5 separate regions of the Homo sapiens genome follow, and all the other regions are linked to region 1. The links are contacts of gene promoters, found by promoter capture Hi-C in blood cells and fetal thymus (Javierre and others, 2016). All regions are on one chromosome and are shown on one strand. Each heading gives the region's core, a stretch centred on a gene start or on the middle of the fragment in contact. The rest is flanking DNA. Distances are from core to core; before and after follow the strand shown. Region 1 holds the start of ST8SIA3 (ST8 alpha-N-acetyl-neuraminide alpha-2,8-sialyltransferase 3). Region 2 overlaps WDR7 (WD repeat domain 7). Region 3 overlaps WDR7 (WD repeat domain 7). Region 4 overlaps WDR7 (WD repeat domain 7). Region 5 overlaps WDR7 (WD repeat domain 7).

What was found. Contacts are between HindIII fragments. The CHiCAGO score rates a contact against its expected background, and 5 or more counts as called.
Region 2: a fragment that was not itself captured here is called in contact with the fragment with the promoter of ST8SIA3 in region 1 in 1 of 17 cell types (endothelial precursors); the score reaches 5.5 in endothelial precursors.
Region 3: a contact is called between a fragment that was not itself captured here and the fragment with the promoter of ST8SIA3 in region 1, in 1 of 17 cell types (M1 macrophages). The highest score is 5.9, in M1 macrophages.
Region 4: a fragment that was not itself captured here is called in contact with the fragment with the promoter of ST8SIA3 in region 1 in 2 of 17 cell types (endothelial precursors and M1 macrophages); the score reaches 5.3 in endothelial precursors.
Region 5: a fragment that was not itself captured here is called in contact with the fragment with the promoter of ST8SIA3 in region 1 in 1 of 17 cell types (M1 macrophages); the score reaches 6.3 in M1 macrophages.

What each region holds. Positions count from the first base shown.
Region 1 is chr18:57,351,054-57,355,016 of GRCh38, forward strand. ST8SIA3 (ST8 alpha-N-acetyl-neuraminide alpha-2,8-sialyltransferase 3) reads left to right here and starts at 1,504. Exons shown (of 4, transcript NM_015879.3): 1 at 1,504-1,972; 2 at 3,349-3,471. The coding sequence starts at 1,794. The HindIII fragment of the contact is 6,120 bases long and covers 147-3,963 here.
Region 2 is chr18:56,857,444-56,861,608 of GRCh38, forward strand. All of the region lies in intron 20 of WDR7 (WD repeat domain 7), which reads left to right. Among named protein-coding and RNA genes, the nearest start is that of WDR7-OT1, 180 kb to the right of the region's middle. The HindIII fragment of the contact is 4,950 bases long and covers 124-4,165 here.
Region 3 is chr18:57,025,805-57,030,015 of GRCh38, forward strand. It overlaps WDR7 (WD repeat domain 7), which reads left to right. Exons shown (of 28, transcript NM_015285.3): 28 at 1,200-3,988. The coding sequence ends at 1,403. Among named protein-coding and RNA genes, the nearest start is that of WDR7-OT1, 12 kb to the right of the region's middle. The HindIII fragment of the contact is 1,476 bases long and covers 1,076-2,551 here.
Region 4 is chr18:56,988,146-56,992,086 of GRCh38, forward strand. The region is part of intron 26 of WDR7 (WD repeat domain 7); the gene reads left to right. Among named protein-coding and RNA genes, the nearest start is that of WDR7-OT1, 50 kb to the right of the region's middle. The HindIII fragment of the contact is 954 bases long and covers 1,618-2,571 here.
Region 5 is chr18:56,880,025-56,883,885 of GRCh38, forward strand. It overlaps WDR7 (WD repeat domain 7), which reads left to right. Exons shown (of 28, transcript NM_015285.3): 21 at 1-141. Among named protein-coding and RNA genes, the nearest start is that of WDR7-OT1, 160 kb to the right of the region's middle. The HindIII fragment of the contact is 1,842 bases long and covers 440-2,281 here.

The DNA of each region.
Region 1 (3,963 bases), core at 254-2,753:
AAACAAATAGGAGCATTCTTTGTGCCACTGTCCACAACCACACAGATATGTTTCCCAAGGGAGCTCATCAGGTCTTCAAACATTTAGCAAGCATGACATGTGTAAGAGACAGTATTGGAGAAGTAAGACAAGCCTTGCTCTGCCGAAGCTTACAATCCAGGAGCTCACCCCTTCAAGGAATTTACAGCCTCCAGACAGATAATAACATTAGGTCCATGAAAGCCTACAAGGCAAGAAGTTCAGGAGAGAAAGAAGTCATAACCATCTTGGAAGAATCTCAACTTGTTTTATCAGAACTCAAACGCCAATTTCTCACCCCTAGCTTCCCTCATTAGTGCTTATTAACTAGTATTGGGAGGACCAAGCGAAGAGTAAAGCTAGGGTAGCAGAGGCCATAAGCTAATTGCAAAGGACAGAGCTAAAGAAACATGCTAGTTTCCCCTGAGCACCCAACTGCATGACTGAAAATGGATTAATTTGTATTTCTAATGGATATACAAGAAACACGTGAATATGCTAAAATAAATTTAAGGTCAAGCAATGCAAAGTGTTAGTGCGTTTGCCTTCCACTCTCAGAGGCAGCCTCTATTATTTGGTTCTTGGGCTGCTTCATAAAAAGTTCTGTGTTTTTTAATGGCCTCAGCTTTTGGGAGGCTCAGGCCACCTAGCCCATCAGGAGACCAGGCCCGAAGGATGGATCTGAAGAGTGGGCAACGGAGAGTTAAACCAGGGCTGACTTCAACAGGCCCAGTCAAGTCAGGGGCAAGCACATTGTCCATCCACTGGAAGACGGAAAGGGGAGAGGAAGGCAGGCCCTCCCGACTCACAGGTCACCTCGCAACTTTGCTAGGCACTACCCACCCTTTAGGGATAAGTGAAGTATGTGGTGGGCATACAAGGCGCACAGGGGAGTCATTCTGGCAAATTCCAAGAAGGTTTTAAGGGCTCCCGAGGCAGGCAGGCCCAGTTGCTGTTTGGAGCTTCCTTTGGGGTGGGAGGATGGCGGGGGCAGGGGGCCGGGGCGGTGCCTTAACGAGGGGAGATGCTTTTAAATAGCTGCCTTCCAAAAACCATCCTCCCTGCTTCTTTGAGAAGCACCCAGCTGTTGTTTACCCTCCAGGACAGCAAATCCGGTTATTTGTCTCTCTATTCCGTGATATTATAAAGTAATGAATGGTCCATTAAACTAAGTTTGGGATCCCGTCTCCCCACAGCCACCTCCTCGCCGGCACCCTCAGCCGGGGAGGCCGTAGGCTCGGGCTGCAGCCTGGCAGCCTCAGTCCCCCTCCCTCCACCATTTCCCTCTACTCCCTCCCTCTCCTGCACCCCCTCCCCCCGGTTATTTGGGAGATTAGAGTTCATTAATTAAATCCTGTGCTTAGATCGAACTGTAACATTATTCCAATCACATTTATCTTGCAGGCGGCGGAGGAGATGGCAGCCTCGCTGGAAACGCGCGGGGGAGCCTGAGCCGGCGGCCGGGGACGCACGGCGCTGCGCGCTCCTTCGCCACGCCGCCGCGCAGCCCCTCCATCTTCCTGCTCGGCACCGGGCCCCGCGCGCCCCTGCCTACGGGGTCCCGCTGCTCTCCGGGGCTCCTGCCAGCCCCAACCCCCGGCCCCGGTGGCCTCCCCCCACCCCCGCCCGGGTCCCCCTCCTCCGCCACACGCGCGCGCGCTCACACACACACACACACACACACACACACACACACACATATATACACGCCAGCGAGCTGCTGGCCGCTCAATGGACCGATTTCCCCGGTTTCCCTGAACCCAGCCCAGCCCGGGATGAGAAACTGCAAAATGGCCCGGGTCGCCAGTGTGCTGGGGCTGGTCATGCTCAGCGTCGCCCTGCTGATTTTATCGCTCATCAGCTACGTGTCCCTGAAAAAGGAGAACATCTTCACCACTCCCAAGTACGCCAGCCCGGGGGCGCCCCGAATGTACATGTTCCACGCGGGATTCCGGTGAGTGCGGGCCTCTGTGTTAGTGCCCTCGGGAATTTGGTTGATGGGGTGTTTGGGGAAGGGAAGGCGTGGGGGAGGGGTGTTTTGGCCTCTCCGAGACTCTTTGGGCCAGATAACTGCGCGGTCCTTCCACTCCTCTCTCTAATTCTCCCTTCCCCCTCCCTGTTATTTTTTTTTTAACCCAAAGCCCCTAGAAGCCGCTGTCCAAATCGATGTGATTGCATTTCTCGTATTCTTCCTCAGCATCCCTTCCCTCATTTCAGAAATGGGGGTTGGGGGAGGCTTTCAGGAGGGTGAGGGTGGAGGGAAAGACGGTGTGTTTGTTCGGGAGGGGGCGGCGAGCAGAGATGGACAGGCGTGAGGGGAGCGCCCTCCCCGCGCCCTGTCCGCAGACTCCGCGGGCCGGGCCCGGGGCGGTGCTGGCGGTTTAATGGCGCAGGCGCCGGACTCCCCTCGCGCCCTCCTCCTTTACTCCCCCACGCCTATCAAAGGACACGCGGGTTTATTCTCAGGAAGCCCCTGGGGCGTTCTCTCTCAACCCTTTCCCCCGCAGCCACCGCCCCCCACCAGCTTTCCGGGATTTCTGCAATTCCCCCGCCCCCTGCGGGAAGCGAGCCTCGGAAGGGCCGCCCACCCTCGCCAGGTCGGAGTCACCGCTCCGCGCTGGGCCGGCCTGTGAAGGCTCCAGGCGCAGCTTGACGCCGCTCTGCGAGAGCCCCCGCCCCGCTCTGTGACCCCGGGAACTCTCCCAGCAGGGCCTCCTGACGGGCAGGTGGCAACTACAAAGTGCCACCTGTGGTCCAAGCTGGGACCGAGGCGAGGAACCCAGAGGAGCCTCGCCTGGACCGAGGAGCGGAGTAGGCCGGCGGCCCCCGGGGGTCCCCAGCCAAGTTATAGGAAGTGAAATCGGACGTGGGTTTGGGAAGGAAGAGGTTAAGGCAGGAACCACCCCCAGACTTTCCCTGGGTCTCCGGTTTCCTCTGCCCTTTCTCCAAAAACAATTCTATGGGGCTGCAAAGGCGTAGCGGGTCAGGCTGGCGGGGCGGCCGCTGTCCGCGGTGCTGATTCCCTGGTCCTCGCAGCGCCGCGGGCTCCAGCCCTGCGCCCGGCGTGCGCCCTGCTCTCCGCATGACGGCCATTTTATGGTCTCTCCGGCACCCGGAGGGATGGACAATGCAGATGGGGTTCCCTAGTTTTCTTTTTTTCTCTCGGGTGTGTGTGGGAGCAGAGGGTGGACCAAATGAGAGGGGCTCCGGGACGGAACGGAGCCCGCACGCGTACCAGCCGCCCTCGCCCCAGCCGCTGCACTTTAATGGCTACCTCGGCTTCCCCGAGCTGAGGCCAGCACGCTTGTCTGTGCTCATGCTCCTCTCCAGGTCACAATTTGCGCTGAAGTTTCTAGACCCGTCATTCGTGCCCATTACGAATTCTCTCACCCAGGAACTCCAAGAGAAACCTTCTAAGTGGAAATTTAATCGGACAGCGTTTTTACATCAAAGGTAGGATAGGAGGAAAAGATCCAAAAGGTGCTTTTAAGAATTCAAGAGCTCAAAACAAAACAAAACAAAAACAAGCAAACAAAAACATCTAAAACAACAAACATCTATACGCCCCACCCTCACCATCAGGTGTATCTGCATTGTTTTCTTGGCATGACTGCACAAAGCAATGATCAGGAACCTTCTCCTGTGTGTGTAGTGTCCTCTCATAAAAAGGACATATCAGGACCAATTTGAATAGCAAAAAAAAAAAAAAGCATTCCACTTGGGCTTGATTGAGCACCATGATTTACAGCTAACAAGTCTGGCAAGTACTGCCAAAGCCATCTATTTAAAAAAAAAAAACAGACAAAAGGTTAGTTGCAAAAAGACCACCCAATGCATTTTCATTTCCTCACTGAAAAAAACTTGAAAAATAGAATAAAGTGGTATTGTTTCTTTGAAACACACGGAAAATGCCATAATCTGTCTCCATCAAATTACTCGTGAAAA
Region 2 (4,165 bases), core at 1,349-3,848, 490 kb before region 1:
AGATTGGTTCTCTGTGTTGCCCAGGCCGGTCACGAACTCCTGAGCTCAAGCAATCTGCCTACCTCGGCCTCCCAAAGTGCTGGGATTACAGGTGTGAGCCACTGTGCCCAACCAGCAGCATAAAGCTTTACGTACACGCCTATGCATACATATATACACATATATATTTTGCCAGCATGTAGTCTTATATACACACTCAGATACACATATATGTGTGTGTGCATGTGTGTACATGCTCACACACACCCTGGGACACCCTGGATTATGCTATAGGAAATAGAGGGATAAAGGACAGAAAGTGGCAAATTACAAAAAAGCCTGTGAATGCTGCTGGGAGGCTTTGCATGAAGCAGTATGGGAGCCCAGAGGACCGCCAGCTAGCAGACCTGCAGCCCAAAACGCTGTGTAGAGGTTTGTCACTCTAAGAAAGTAGGAAAGGAAATGTCCCCTCCTACCTTCTCTGTGACTCCCTTTTTTAACTCCTACAGTTTGGTACATGACTAGGTTTTCCCCAGCATTCTCTGCTTGGTCCCCTCCTCTCTTCTTTTCCTTGTTACACTCATCATTACCTATCACCTGACTGGGAATCATTTCCAGCTTTCTCTCTCCAGATCTCATCTCTCTGCTGAGCTCCAGGCTTTTACTTTCAGCTGCTTGCTAGACTTCTCCATGTGAATAGCCTTCAGTTACTTTAAGCTGTTATGCTTGAATTCTACTTATTTTTATTAGCACCATTTGTACAGATTTGAAACCTTAAAGTTATGTTTGACTCTTCACTCTCTTTAGCTCAGACTTTTTATTCCTGTGTAATAGCTCCTCTTTTCCATGTTCACTGCCACTACCCTTTTAGTAGCTACTGCCTCTGTCTCAAATCTCTTAAATGCACAGTTGTCAGAATGATCTTCCTAATAATCACCATATAATTCAAAAATTTCCGTGGCTTGTCATTGCTTTTAGAATATAATCTCCTTAGCCTGGTATAGAAGACCCCTATATTCTAAAACTATTTCACATTCTTTTTTTTATTTTAAGATTTTTATCATTTATTTTTTAATGTAGAGACAAGGTCTCGCTCTGTTGCCCAGGCTGGTCTAGAACTCTTGGCCTCAAGCGATCCTCCTACCTCAATCCCCTAAGGTGCTGGGATTACAGGTGTGAGCCACCGTGCTGGCCTACTTCACATTCTAGCTTTAGTTCCCACTTACTGTTTTCAGTATCTCTATCTTGGGCCAAATTAAACTGGTTTTTCTTTCCCAGGTATAATTGGAGTTGTTCTGCTTCTAGGCTTGATTCATTAATTCAACAAATATTTATTTAGCATCAAATATTCAAATATTTATTAAGCACCTACATGCCAGGCATTGTTCTAAACCCTTGAGCAACATCTGCAAGCAAAATGACAGAAGTCGTCTCAACCCCTGCCTTCTTGCAGGGGGAAGGGGTTGAGGGGCAGTAAGTAGAATAAATTAGTGTATTTTTTATAATATATTAGAAGATGGTAGATGCTATGCCAAAAGACTAGAGAAGAGCAAAAGATGAAGAAGACGGTGGCCATGAGGGGAGGTGGTCAGGATAGGATTCAACTTCTGCTGTGGTTTATTCTTTAGGTGCACCCTTATTTCTTCTTGTCAAATCTGAATGGATTTAGGGACCTCTCTGGGGTGACACTTCTGTTGTGAGGTCCTCCCCTTTGTCTACTGAGGTCAACTTCCTCTGAATATCTATGACTTTCTTATTGTTGTTGACCTTGCTTATTGATAAGTATTGCTTTCTTCCTTGGTTTTCAGTTATTTGTTAATTTATCTTTACTTTCCTATTAAGCTCTGATATCTTTGAGGAAAGGGTTATTACACCTTAGTATACCTAATTTTTATTGTTTCTTTAGGGTAGTAGGTAAAAGCATTGGCTTTAGAGGTGGTCTGCCTGGTTTGCCTCCTGGCCCCACCACTCCCTAGCCACAAGACTGGGGCAGCTTATCAACCCGTGCCTCAGGTTCTTCTTTATCCTTGAGATTTCTTTCTAAAATTGATTGTTTTCTGCCTTATTTTCTATGTCACTCTCTTGCTTGCTCTTAGTATTATTATACTTTGGAATTTGTATGTCTATGTGTTCGCCTTCCTCCCCTGAATGTAAGGTACAAAAAGGCAGAAACCCTGTTATTAGTCCCTAGTATGCCTTCCCACCCATTTTGAATAAATGGATGTTTGTATGAGTAAAACGAAATAATTTCGAACACCTTGTGTCTTGTATAAATATATAAAATACACAAATATAAAATGAAATGTGCAGTGAACATTTGTGACCATTGAACTTAGGTCTTTTGTTAACACGTCTTAGTAATGATGAGGAAGAATATCCCTTCTTCATATGGCTTCTACTTTGTGTTATCCCGGGTAGTCCGGCTCTTCACACTTCATCTGCTTCCTTCCTGTGTTTCCCTTGGAAGTCATATAGGCATTCGCTCCTTTAATGTCTTTATCTTTATGGTTTTAGTAGCATTGATTTTTGTGGGGTATAACTAGTAAATGATTCTAAGATATTTTGAGAATATAAATGCAAGAAAAGTATTTTATAATAATGGATGAGAAAAGAGGGAAGGAGAAAGGGTTTCCATACTCTTTCATTGAATTTCAGCCCCCGAATGTGTGGTAATTCCTGGAATGATGGTAGTCAGTACTGATTCCCAAGCCCATCGCCTCTGCTGACTGGAAGCACAGAATGATGGGCCCATGCTTTCAAGAATATGTGACTGTTCTTGAGGGAACACTAAAATTAACTCGTATTCTATCTAAATTCTTATAACCATTAATACTTTATAGCCATTAATCTCCATATGATTTCCCTATGTAATCATGAGTGCATGCTTCAATACATTTACTCTTGAAAGACTGACTTGTAAAAATGTGAAAAAAGAACCATAGCTCATCCCAGCTAAAGCAAAATGGTTCAGTTTTACCATCCTTAAATTTGATCTATGTTTACATCTGTTTACAAATCTGAGCATTCCCTCCCCGCAACTGACCTAATGCTTCAGTGCCCTCTTCTAATAAAAAAATCAATATACACATCCAGCACTCATGAGTAACCCTATAATAATAAACCAGATCTCATGCAATTGAAAAAAATAATTTCAGGAAAAAACTCATTAGGATTGTGACCAACCACAGTCTTTCTTGAAAATAAGTATCATGCAGTTTAGGAATATAATAATCCTTTTAATTTGATTATGCTATTTTCTTAAGCCTTAATCTTAGTTAAAAAAATGTCTTTATTAAAATGATGTATTTGGTGTTCTTTTTCTTCACACAATTAATGATGCAGTTAATCTAAGGAATGTTAAATTAAGTTGTTTTAAAATCTGATTTAGCTCAATTTTATAATTCTTTTTCTGCCTCTTTTTTTTTCATGAACATTTACAATATAAATATTTATGAAGGAGTACATGTGTTCTAAACCATTGGTTTGTATCATATAATACATGAAAATATTACATAGTAAAAAGTGTATCTTTTAAAAAATATATCTTTGTTTTTCTAGAAATACAATTGCTCTATTTCTATGTTAACTGTTTTGCTTTCTATTTCACAAATGTTTTACATTAAAAAATCTGCTTTAAAAATATGAATTTTTAAATACTTTTGTAAAATACATCAATTACGTGAAACAGCGAAAGTACAGTTTATATTCTTTTTCTAATCCTTGATGGTTGCACTTTGATAAATAAATAGATCATCTAAGATTCAATAGGCCAATTGCAGCATATAATAGCTATTCAGAGGCAATTAAACTGCCTTTTTTCATGCCGGCGTGTGAGCCGCCCTTTCACAACCTTCAACTTGATTCGTGGTGATTCAAAATTAACTTAAAAGTCTTGTTTGCTGACAGCTTAAGGCTTAATTGACTGAAAGCCAAATAGAGTGTGTTCTGTATTCAGCACTAAGGCTATTGATAAAGCCATGTGTAAATTGTGCATGGTGAAAGACAGCGATTGGGCCTCCTGTTCTTGTATTAGTCCACAACTTAGCATTGCTGCACAGTCAGAATTGCTTTGTCAAGTCTTTTATCACACCAGGTTAACTCTCTCTGGAGTTGTTCCAGCAGCAGAGCAGTCGAGTATTGAGCTTCTACAACACTGTAGGGCCTGCTATAATTCTGTTACTTATTT
Region 3 (4,211 bases), core at 564-3,063, 320 kb before region 1:
TGTTTTGCACTGATCCACATGCAGGGGATGATGTCAGTGATAACGCATCTTAAATGTCCTAGGATTTGCCAGAGTTTCATGGATCAACCATTTGTAGATGTTGGATCATAATCTGCATGCTTCATGCAAATCTCTAGAATCTTACATCGAGATGGAGGTTATACTGGAGAGAAGCATTGGAAATGAAAATTAGTACAAAGAAAAAGTGTTATTTCCAAGGCTTCTTTCCAGATTTTCAGTATTCTTTCCATGTGATATTATAATAGCACACATAATGCTATTGAAGATATTTTAAGTAATATTTAGAATCTAAAGAAATCTTCAGACTCAGTTGCTTAGGAAACAGTTCACTTAGACAGCTACCATTCAGTATTTAGTACTTCAACCTGAATGCATAGTTGTTCATGATTCATAATTTCCATGTTGTTTTTCATTTATGTGGCTGGATTAAGAAAACCTAAAATTTAAATCCAGAAAAACTGCCAAAAAGCAGAAGTTATCAATTGATAAAAAGGTATTGTCAATAAAATATTAACAGCAGACTCTCCTTAGTATGATAGCAAAACAGTGAGGCACAGACATAGTGTTGAGATGAAATTGATTCTGGTTCTGCACTTTATAATAAGCAAGAGCTTTCCAGAAAGCGAGTTTTTAAAAAGCAAGTGAAGAGTGAAGGTATTAGTAGGTGGGAAATGGGGGTGGAAGGGAGTCTTGAGCTTTATTTGATCCAATTGTCACTCTATCTACTGCTTAACTTTGCTTCCTTTTCTTGAACTAATTACAAATCCCAAAACTTGTCTTCGCTGACTCATCCTTCAGGGAGTGAGTGCAGTTAGCATTGTGGTAAAGAACATGAAAGTCTTCAGTTTTAAATATCCACAATTTCCAAATATCTGTGTTGTCTAAATGAACCATTTTATTAAGAGGTATAATTTAGCCCTCTTCCTAAAGATCCATGGACTCTCCTTTTGTCAGGTTCTACCCCTATAAAATTCCTCTAGATTTCTGCATTTACCATAACAGCATCGGAACAATTCCAAGCACACTGAAAGGAACTTTTGAGAGGTTAAGAACAAGCTTAGGTGAAGGAGAATAACCATGATGGAGGGGAAAGTAGCCAGGAGAGATCGACCCAGTCTCTGTGATAGGGAAAGGGAGAGGGCTGTTCAAGTGACACATGTGCTCTCCTGTCCCTCCAGATGAACACGTCACTGCTGGGAAGCATCGGCATGCTGAACTCGGCACCTCAGCTGCGCTGCATTAAAACCTACCAGGTGCCCCCTGTGCAGCCCGCGTCCCCCGGCTCCCACAATGCCCTCAAGCTGGCCCGGCTCATCTGGACTTCCAACCGCAACGTCATCCTCATGGCCCATGACGGGAAGGAGCACCGCTTCATGGTCTAATGCTGCTGCCTGCCGCCGTGACTGCGTTTTAGTTCTCTAAATTATCCAAGCCGATGTTGCTCTGTCCTTCCTCACACCAGATTGTTCCCAGGGGCCTGCCCACCCCAGTGCCATCCAGTGGCACGGCCGGGTCTTGTCACTTGTGCATGCTTCTCAGGGGCAGAACCCGCTCGTGCCATCTGTCGATTCAGAGGCACGCACACATGCTCTGCAGGATGTGGCCATCCTGTCACCAGGTAGTTTTTCCCTGCCAGAGATGGCAGGGGAAAGCCAGTGGTTCCTGGGAACGCTCTTGTTGCTTGGTGCAACAGAAGCACAAAAATCAATAAACACTGTGATTGCACTCCCAGCCCAGATCAGCATTTTTAGCCATCTCAACCGCACCTCTGAAGTGCTGCTTGAATCTGGCCGTTCTGACACTGGGTGTTGAGGTCATGTGGCAGTCCTCACGATTGAAATTATTGCCCTTTGAATTACCTAAAATATTGTTTACCAAAAAGATTCTGTGTTTACATGTTCTTTTCTTCTGGTGATTGCTAGGAAATTACTCAATCCAATTTCCTAGGGTTTAGCTACCACCTTCTTTATCAACAGCTAACCAATTTGAGATTCATGATTAATTATGTACACAAAAATATTTTCCTTGTAGAAAATAGTTTTCCAGACACTTAGCCTTCTGAAGTGCTCATCTCTTGCTTAAATGATAGTCTATTTAGTAGTTTAAAATAAAAATAATCACTCCCTATGATCTAGTTAATGTAATTATCCAGTCACTGTAACTAATCTCTTGAAGGGACTTTTGTGATAAAGAGCCAAGTTCAGAAGCATAGCGTGTACCGAAAATGAAGACTCTCCTATCTACTGCTACAGATCCTGTTGAAGAAAGAGCTTACCCCTTTCCCCCGGAAAACTTGCAATCCTGTAGTTCCCATATGTGTGGCATATGTCAGTTATGAAATTATTATAATTCAGCCTTCAAACTACTACTGATCAACTAAAGGAAAGCTAATAAGGTATTTCTTTTAAACAAGTATTCTGGAAAAGTAATAACTATGGCACAAATGTTCAGGAGTGTATATAAAAATATGTGGGCTCTCGATTTATTTGAGCAAACATTGCAATGAGGGTGTTCATTATGCTTCTAAGTAAGCTTTAACTAGACCACTTTCTTCTTATGTCAGATTGTGCTGGTTCTAGCTCATAATAATGAAAAAAATAGAATTATATTTTGTATGAATTGTTTCTAACAAACCTTGATCTGTATATACTTGTGAGGGGTTGTTTGGTTGCCTAATTGTTGATTGGTTGGTTAGTTGGGCAAAATCATTTATTACATGCAAAAATAGAAAATTATTTGTTAAATTCAGAGAAAATATGTGAAGTTTACAAAGGAACCAAAATGATAATGGGAGAATTTAGTCTTAAAAGTTTAGGTTGTCAGAGTTTATCTGATATACAAAAAAGTAGGATCAAAGTCTAGGAACAAACATTGGTTATTTCACTGAAACAGATTTTTAAAGAGCATATTAAGAAATTAAGACCATTAGATCATCTCTTTCATAATGATATGATGTTATTTCCATTGACGGCAAATCTATACTGTTCCTTGGTTTTAGAGTTGGGTATTCTTTCAAAAGTGAATTTAGGCACATGCATGTACATTGTATTTATAAAGATTATATATGTAGTTTCCAAGGAAGAAACAAAGACCTATACAGTTTAGACTTTATTTGTTTGGTGAACGTGCTGTTGTGTTTGGCATAGCTAGAGAAATGTAAGGTAAAAGGCTCACTTTGTTTTCCAGTGGGTCCAGAGTCTTCTCTATACCCAACATATGTTTACTTTATGAACTTAAATGGAAATTAATTTATTGTAGACTACATCTCTATTTGGAATGATGAGGTAAATGTATACCTTAGCATTTTCTTTAACAAAAATGTTCTGTGTGTCAGGAAAGAGGTGTGAGAGTGGTAGGCAGCCTGCCGCAAACACACGGATGGCTCCCCCCGCCACGAAGGTTGAGAACAAAGCCAGGGGGCCCAGAGGAGCAATAGCCCTGGGCCACAAGCGTGGGTAGGCCTTTCACGTATTCCGTCTGCACAGGCAACCAAGGCCAGTAGAAAGCTATGGCTGCAAAACCCTGGGGTGGACGATGTTTGATGATTAGACGGTCATCTCTAACTACTAAACTAATATCTGCATTCTTGTTAACATAAATCTCTCCTTGGCTATTTTAATAGCCACAGTCCCAAACTTCATCCCAGCTTAGATTTCTCAGCACTGAGGTAAACTCTGCATTGTCATCCCAGCGTACACCTTTAATGTTTTATTGATTTCACTGGCACTGTATTTGGACCTGTCCTTGTATATGTAGAGACATATGTGGCTTCATTGGTAATTTACAAGCAAAAGATGACATGACGTGACACCTGTATGAAAATGTGATGATTGAACTCCCTGTGTACAGCGAGTGAATTAAAATGTCTGCCTCTCCAGACATTTCTTAATGATTCCACTTAATAGACTCTATGTGTGCTGAATGTTCCTGTGTACATATGTGTGTTAAATAAAACAATTGTATTGAAGACTGTTTTTCTCACAATATTACCTTTTCCAGTGTTCACTCATCTTAAACATCCTCAGTTGAAATCCGTATGCTCCGCTAGCCCTGCTGCTTCTAATCATTCATTTCCCTGGAGAGCTGGCTTGGGAAAGGCAACTTATTCCCAGAGGACAGTAGAGCAGAAGTGCAGAGGTAAGCTCTCCCTCCAGAAACTCACTGGCACTCTCTGTGGTTTGGGAAAGGCG
Region 4 (3,941 bases), core at 845-3,344, 360 kb before region 1:
CCGATTTCTTTTAGTCTTATCACCTTCGTAACCCCTAATTAAGCAATAAGGCTTGACAGGGAGTATGGTTATCATGAGATAATGACACCCCAAGTGTGTTGTGAGGCATAAGGTTCAGCTGAGTGCTTCTAAACCTCTAGGGGTGTGATTATCTCATGATAAACATACCACATTGCTGCTCATTGATATCATTGCTGCCTGTGTGCAGCACTCCAGTTGAGGCAAAATTGACATTTCCTTGCCCACCTTCTCAGCCAATCCAAATTGGTGCTTCTATAAAATTGTTAGTTCAGGTCTCAGATTTATAAGCCAAAGTTTAAACCCATAAGCTTTTATTTTATTGTTTAAGTGGTATCAGTTGAACATGCAAGTACATCTTTGAAAAAAATATAAATTTATTTTTTAAAGGTAAGTTTCCTCAGAAGAAAGACCTCATGGAAGGCAAGTGTGTGTGTGTGTGTGTGTGTGTGTGTGTGTGTGTGTGTGTGTGTATAGAGTCGTCGCAATTTTGCAGCAGTTAATAGACCCTACTCCAATAAAAAAAATTGGGCATTCTTATAAATTCAGAAGAAGCATGGTTGTGCTTTAATTCAAAAAAAGTTATTAAATAGTTGGAAGTTCTATAGGGAATATTAATTGGATGTTTGGTTTAGGAAATTCTTTTTAACTTATTTGCAATTATCACAGTTAATAATAGACCAAGGGAGAGGGGGATGGAGAAAAATGTTAGTTTTGTAGCCTTGTTTTTGTTCCGGTTTCTTGTAAATTGATTATATTTCAGGGAAGAATAATTTATGTTTTTTTATATTGGCTCTGATTTGGTATTTAACAGAAAAAAATTGAATTATCTACAGTAATTTTGGTTTGACTCTTAAAGGAGAAAAAGATGCCACCTTTTAGATATAACTCTCAGGAGTATATGTGTGTATGGTTTTTTGAAAAAAAAAAAAAATGGTGAGAATACCATGGCTAATTTTATAATGTTTTCAGCATGAATTTAACTGTGTCTTCTAAAGCAACATTATTCATTAGGACTTTCTGTGATGATAAAAATATTCTGTGTCTGTACTCTCCAGTGTGATAGCCATTAGCCATATGTGGCTAATAAGACTGAGGAGTTGAGTTCTTTGTTTTACTTAGATGTCATATTCTAAAGAAAATCCTTGAAAGTTAATTTTTCTCAAGCTCCTCACAAAATTTCCAATAAATGAATTATCTTATGGCTTTAAAAAATGATATTTTTTCCAAGTAATTAGTTTCTTTGATGGTCTTTTTTATCTTTTGATGTTCAAATAAGAACTGGAAGAGTCTGTTCATTTTATAGAGATTTAAAATTCTTCTTAGTACAACTTCTACTCTAATTTGTATGCAATTTTCAGAAGGTCTTGTCAAGTAGTTAGGCATTTAATGCATGCTGAAACTATTAATCTACTTATGAAATTAAAATAATAACTTCCCTGGCGAAGTGAAAGACTTTTTTAGGAAGAATTTCTATCAACCAAAAATGCCAGGACTTTTGGTGCTTATTTTTTAAATAACTTATGATACTTGATTATACCTGTAATTTTATTTGTCTCAATAGAGTATTTTTTTCTTAATAAGAATTATAAGTTTCCAAGCTTACCTTTATTCCCGTAGGTACAGTTCCTACATTGAAAATGTCCAGAATATTATTTAAACCTTGACTGCTCTCTCGATGGCACCCAGCCTTCATCACTTACATGGCTGAGTTTGTTCATTCTTAAAACAGTCTTTGGATTTTAAACTAAAATATTTATCAAACCCAAGTCTATAGTAAGTGTCCACTAAATGAGCAAACAGGACCATGTAAAACTAATGTCTTTCTTTAAGTGGAAAGTTAACACTTCTTAAAGCATAAGCTGACTCCTTACTATTCCTATTTTTTAATTAATTTTGGTTTTTAAAAAGATTAGGCCATCCTAAGCAGAAAACTATAAACAAAATTGCTGGTATATAAAAGCATAGAATTTGGAATTAAATCCAGGAAACCAAAGGGCACAGAGCTGAAGACCCAAGAATTCTCCTTTCATTGCGTGAACTGCATTGCCATTCATGGCAGGTAAAACTGTCTGAAACAAAGACCTGAAGTCCTTAGGTGAGTGGCAGTAGAAGCTGCTGCCAGTGTTGCCTAGCAGGAAAGGAACTTGGAGCAATCAGGGAATCAGAGGTGCTGTGGACCAAAAGCCCATATGGGAATCCTTGTGCTTCTCCAGAGCCTAGTGAGAGCCACCTCACTCCACCTTTACGTTTCATTTTAAACTTCTTTTTCACAATAGTAGGAAGTTACATTAAAAACAAACATCCTATAGATGAGAACATATGATTTCTAAGGTTTTCTTTCAAACAATATGAGAGGGGGAAAAAGAAGATGAACCTGGATGAAGCAAAATTATGCTAAAGCTGGGCAAAGGGTACACAGAGGTTCATTATAGGTACTATTCTGTCTGCTGTTGTACACTTGGAAAAGTTTCCATCATGATTTTAAAATGCAAATATTATAAAGGCTGAGTTGATGTAAATGTTTATATTACTAATAATACTTAGGAGGTAAGCTTTACTTATATATACCATAGTTATTCTGTCTTACCCTCCTACCTATTGCTCCAGCTTTTTCTCACCAGGCTCTCCCCTGCAGCCTCTGTGCTCAGGCTACACCAGCTGACTTTTTGTTGTTGTTATTTCAATCTCAGCTTTTCTCTCTCACCCCAGGACCTTTGCATATGCCATTTCCCCATTCCGGGTTCTCTTCTTTCCTCACTTATTCCTAAACCCAACAACTACTTACTACCTCACTAGTACACCAAATTGTATTGTTAGGTACTAGACTGATTCTCATTCCATTCAGTTCCCATTCAGGTTGGGTTGCTCACTGCCTGTTCTCCTGTGATGAAAGTCAGGGCATGTGCCTTTCTCAGCTTTGGACACAACTTATGAAGATAGCACCACCTCTTACTAGCTACCGTACACCTTCTCCTCATTTTTTTTTTTTTTTTTTTTTGAGACGGAGTCTCGCTCTGTCGCCCAGGCTGGAGTGAAGTGGCACGATCGCGGCTCACCGCAAGCTCCGCCTCCTGGGTTCATGCCATTCTCCTGCCTCAGCCTCCCGAGTAGCTGGGACTACAGGCGTCCGTCACCACTCCCGGCTGATTTTTTGTATTTTTGGTAGAGACGGGTTTCACCGTGTTAGCCAGGATGGTCTCGATCTTCTGACCTCGTGATCCGCCTGCCTTGGCCTCCCAAAGTGCTAGGATTACAGGCATGAGCCACCATGCCCGGCCTCATTTTTTAAATATTGGAGAAACTGGCCAAATGAGAGTTGGAGTAATCCTGAAGGAGGCAAGGGACCATGAGACTAGAGATTGCCTAACCCTGTTGGGGGGAAAAAAGAACTCTAAAAATTTTAGACATTATGTGGACCAAACAAAACAGGTTTATGGACAACACTGAGCCTGTGGGCAGTCCATAGCTATGGATTTGGAAGTGTGAGTGATTATAGAGTAAGAAAGAAAAAGGAATCTGTCTTTGTTGAACTCTCCATAACTGATACCTTTATTTGAAATGTGGCTTATTGGCAACAGCCCAAGATATTATTTAAATTGTGAATACTAATACCCTGCTTTAAAATGTGATCCCAGCGATCTCTAAGAACAAACTGTTAATGGAGAGAGATGATCTGTATCTGTCAGTTCAGTTTCCCATTATGAGTTCATGTGTAATTTAATAAAATGTTCAGACTATTCATGGCTTTCAAAATATATTATTTTTGTTACAAATGTATTTTGCCTGATTTTTAATATTCTCCATTTCTTCTTCTAATTAATCATATTAATCAATTAAAATAGAAAACGAGTCCTGCTCAGTGTAAAATAACCTCAAGCCCATGCTGTTTAATTTTATAAAGTACTCATAATGAAAAAGAA
Region 5 (3,861 bases), core at 111-2,610, 470 kb before region 1:
TACTTGGAGTAATAGGAGCTGAATTTGGTGCTGAAATTGAACCTCCTAAACTATTGACCAGACCTCGAAGCTCTAGCCAAATTCCTGAGGGATTCGGGTTGACTAGTGGTGGATCCAACTACTCGCTGGCCAGACATACTTGTAAGTTTTAAAACTTCTAATGCTGATCTGTTGCTTCTGAATACATATTATTTGTCAGCAAAATCTCATAACATTGACTATATCCTGAGTTTTAGCTCATTTAGATTGCTTGCGTGAAGTTAGAAAGCAGTACAATCTGGCACATTTCCCGTTAGTTACAGTAACCTGAACTCCTTTTTAAAAGTTAAAACATCGTCTTTTAAATGCTATTCTTAAAATAACACATTTCTGACCTTTGTATTTTTGCATTGTTCGTCAAGATTTTAGCCAGAATTTATGAAAGCTAGATTCAAGTTAAAGCTTTTAAAATAATTTCTGGAAAACTATGCAGTTTGTTCTGAATGTGGTTTGAAAAGTCAGGACTGGGGTGGAACACCAGTCTTTTCTTTTGAAAAGAAAATATATTCATTCTCCTTTCAATAAATAAATTCTCAACACATATTTGTTAAATTAATGGGCATATTAATAAATTTGTATATGTGATAATACATATAAATAATACATGGGTTTATGAAAAAGAGCATACATGATGAATTATGAATTAACCCTGTAATTTAAAAAATATTCCAGTAACAGTTTTTAAATGACTATAGACTATAACAATCAAAATTCAAAGGGCTGTGTCATTCTACTCTCTTTGGTTCTGTGCTTGGTATGTTAATAATAGGTAAGGGTGCTTTAAAATAAGCTCTTTTGGTTCTTCAGTGTCAGAATTCCTTTCAGTAAGGTCAGAGTGGCATGTGGCACCATATAGCAAAATTATTTCTAATAAATTGTGTCCTCTTAAGGAACAAATATAGTCCAACTGAATACATCACAAAATATTCTTGTAGAACAAAATGCAATAGATCCTTTTGCTTTTTTGGCCTTTAAGCAAGAGAAAAAGATGCATGTTACTTTGTTATTTATGACAGCAGTGAACTTCACTGGACCATTGCCACATACTCTTGCTGTAAAACTGAGGGCCATGTTAGTGACTTTTATTATAAAAGCCCTTCAATAGACTTAGCTGCCCCTCCTATAACTGTTTTTTGAAAGACTTCATTCAACAAATACTTATTAGTGATAATCTCTTGATCTCAGTTTGAGAATCAGAGTAATAACGTTTAAATTTAAACAATACCACCACCAACCATAATGATGCAACTATTATGAGCACTATTTTTTTTTAGCTCTTTACATGCATTACCTCACTTCATCCTCATAATAACCCTGTAAAGTGGATCCCTCTTATCTCGATTTTATGCATAAAGCTGGTGGGGCATAGAGAGGTTTAGTTAACCTGGCAAGGATCATACCTCTGGGAAAGGAGTTTTTGTTTCCATCTAGTCTGTTGTTCCAGAGTTCATGCTTTTGACCATTATGCAAACTGCTGCTATTCAGTGGCTCCCAGTTGGAAAGGGCTTAATGACTAATATGTGCTGTAACTTTACAATTTATTGATTTATTTTATTTTATTTTTTGAGACAGAGTCTCTCTCTGTCACCCAGGCTGGAGTGCAGTGGCATGATCTTGGTTCACTGCAACCTCCTGCCTCAGCCTCCCAAGTAGCCAGGATTACAGGTGTAGGCCACGATGACTGGGTAATTTTTGTATTTTTCATAGAGACGGGGTTTCCCCATGTTGGCCAGGCTGGCCTCAAACTCCTGACCAGAAAGGATCCACCCACCTCAGCCTCCCAAAGTGCTAGGATTACAGGCATGAGCCACTGCACCTGGCTATAACTTTACAATTTAAAAAACACTTTCTTTCCTGTCTTTCCCCTCATTTGATCTTCAAAATGAACTTAAGACTTCTTCAAAGTGACTCAGCCAAAAAGTAGTAAAACCTAAACTTGAACTCAAGTGTCTTGCGACCTGAGAACCGTTTCCCTTCTCCACCTGGGCACATTACTCTCCCTCTACGGCCAACAACTACATGCTTACTGGCTCCTACCTCCCCACTCGGGCTTATTTATCTTTTCTCAAGTTCTTCAAGATCCCTGCTATCCATTCCTAAAACCTTGCTTAAATCTCACCATTTCTACAAAGGGCTCTTTAATTAGTCTAGCTTATCTGTCACTTCAGACAGCCCAGGACTTAACATATGTAGAGCAGGTCCTTATTTAGAAGTTTGGCATTAGACTATTAGAGGTTAATGAAGCTTTGACATGATTTGGTGTGGTGGCTTTCAAACTTTTTTGCTCAATAACTCCCTGAGAGTGTCAAGAAATGTCTAATCCTTTGCACATTTTATGTTGACAGCTACAACTTTTTAATTGCAAAATATATTTTCACAGTATCTTGAGGAGATTGTGAATATTGATGTTTAAAAATAAAACTTATGGCTCTTTCTAATATATTCAGTAGAATATTTAACTATTTCATATCCATCATCATCAATTTTTAATAAATACCTGAACAAACTTCCCATTAAAAATCAGAAATCTTAAATCCTTTATTATTTTCTTTGAAGTGGAAATTTCTACCCTCACAGTTTTAGGGAAGGAGTTCATTAGCAAATTTAGCACCCAGAAATCAATTCCTTTAAAATACCTAGGTCTTAAACTGTTTGTGCTTCTAAAACTACCTATTCCTTGAAACTTTTAATATACTCCTGTTTGAAGAGGGTTACCTATTTTGAAGACCACTGATTAAGTCTAACATATTTTGTGTAATTTCTCAACACCATCCTTTTGTATTTGATATTTTCCTGCAAGGAGAGTGAAAATAAATGCTGTTTCATTTAGAATTTTTCCATTGCTTAGTACAAATATCTGTATATAAATGTAGGAACGGCTGGGCGCGGTGGCTCACACCTGTAATCCCAGCACTTTGGGAGGCCGAGGTGGGTGGATCGGGAGGTCAGGAGATTGAGACCACAGTGAAACCCCATCTCTACTAAAAATACAAAAAATTGGCCAGATGCGGTGGCAGGCGCCTGTAGTCCCAGCTGCTCGGGAGGCTGAGGCAGGAGAATGGCGTGAACCTGGGAGGTGGAGCTTGCAGTGAGCCGAGGTGGCGCCACTGCCCTCCAGCCTGGGCGACAGAGCGAGACTCCGTCTCAAAAAAAAAAAAAAAAAAAAAGCAGGAAGGTGGTAAATAAATGAATTGCTGATTGGTTGCATTCAGGCTCTGGGCTGGATGCTGGGTAGGTTAGTTTACATCTCATTATCCTAGTTATGTAAGAGAGTACTGTTGTCATCACTTTTCTAATCACAGTTTATCTTTACACAAAATTGTGTTATTTGTGAATTAGCTTCTATATGACTTTTCTTTTAACTGTAATAATTTTATTTTTTAAATTTTTATCTGTTTACAGTTTTTTTAAAAGTCCATTTAATCTCTCAGTCTTGTTTTTTTGTTTTTTTTTTTTAAATTTCAATAGGTTTTGGAGGAGCAAGTGTTGTTTGGTTACATGAATAAGTCCTTTAGTCGTGATTTCTGAGATTTTGGTTCACCCATCACCCTACCAGTGCACACTGTACCCAGTGTGCAATCTTTTATCCCTCACCCCTCTCCCACCCTTTCCCCTGAATCCTGAATGTCCATTGTATCATTCTTATGCTTTTGAGACATCATAGCTTAGTTCCCACGTATGAGTGAGAACATACGATGTTTGGTTTTCTATTCCTGAGTTACTTCACTTAGAATAATGGTCTCCAGTTCCATCCAGATTTCTGTAAATGCCAATATTTCATTCCTTTTTATGGCTGAGTAGTACTCCATGGTGTGTATATAT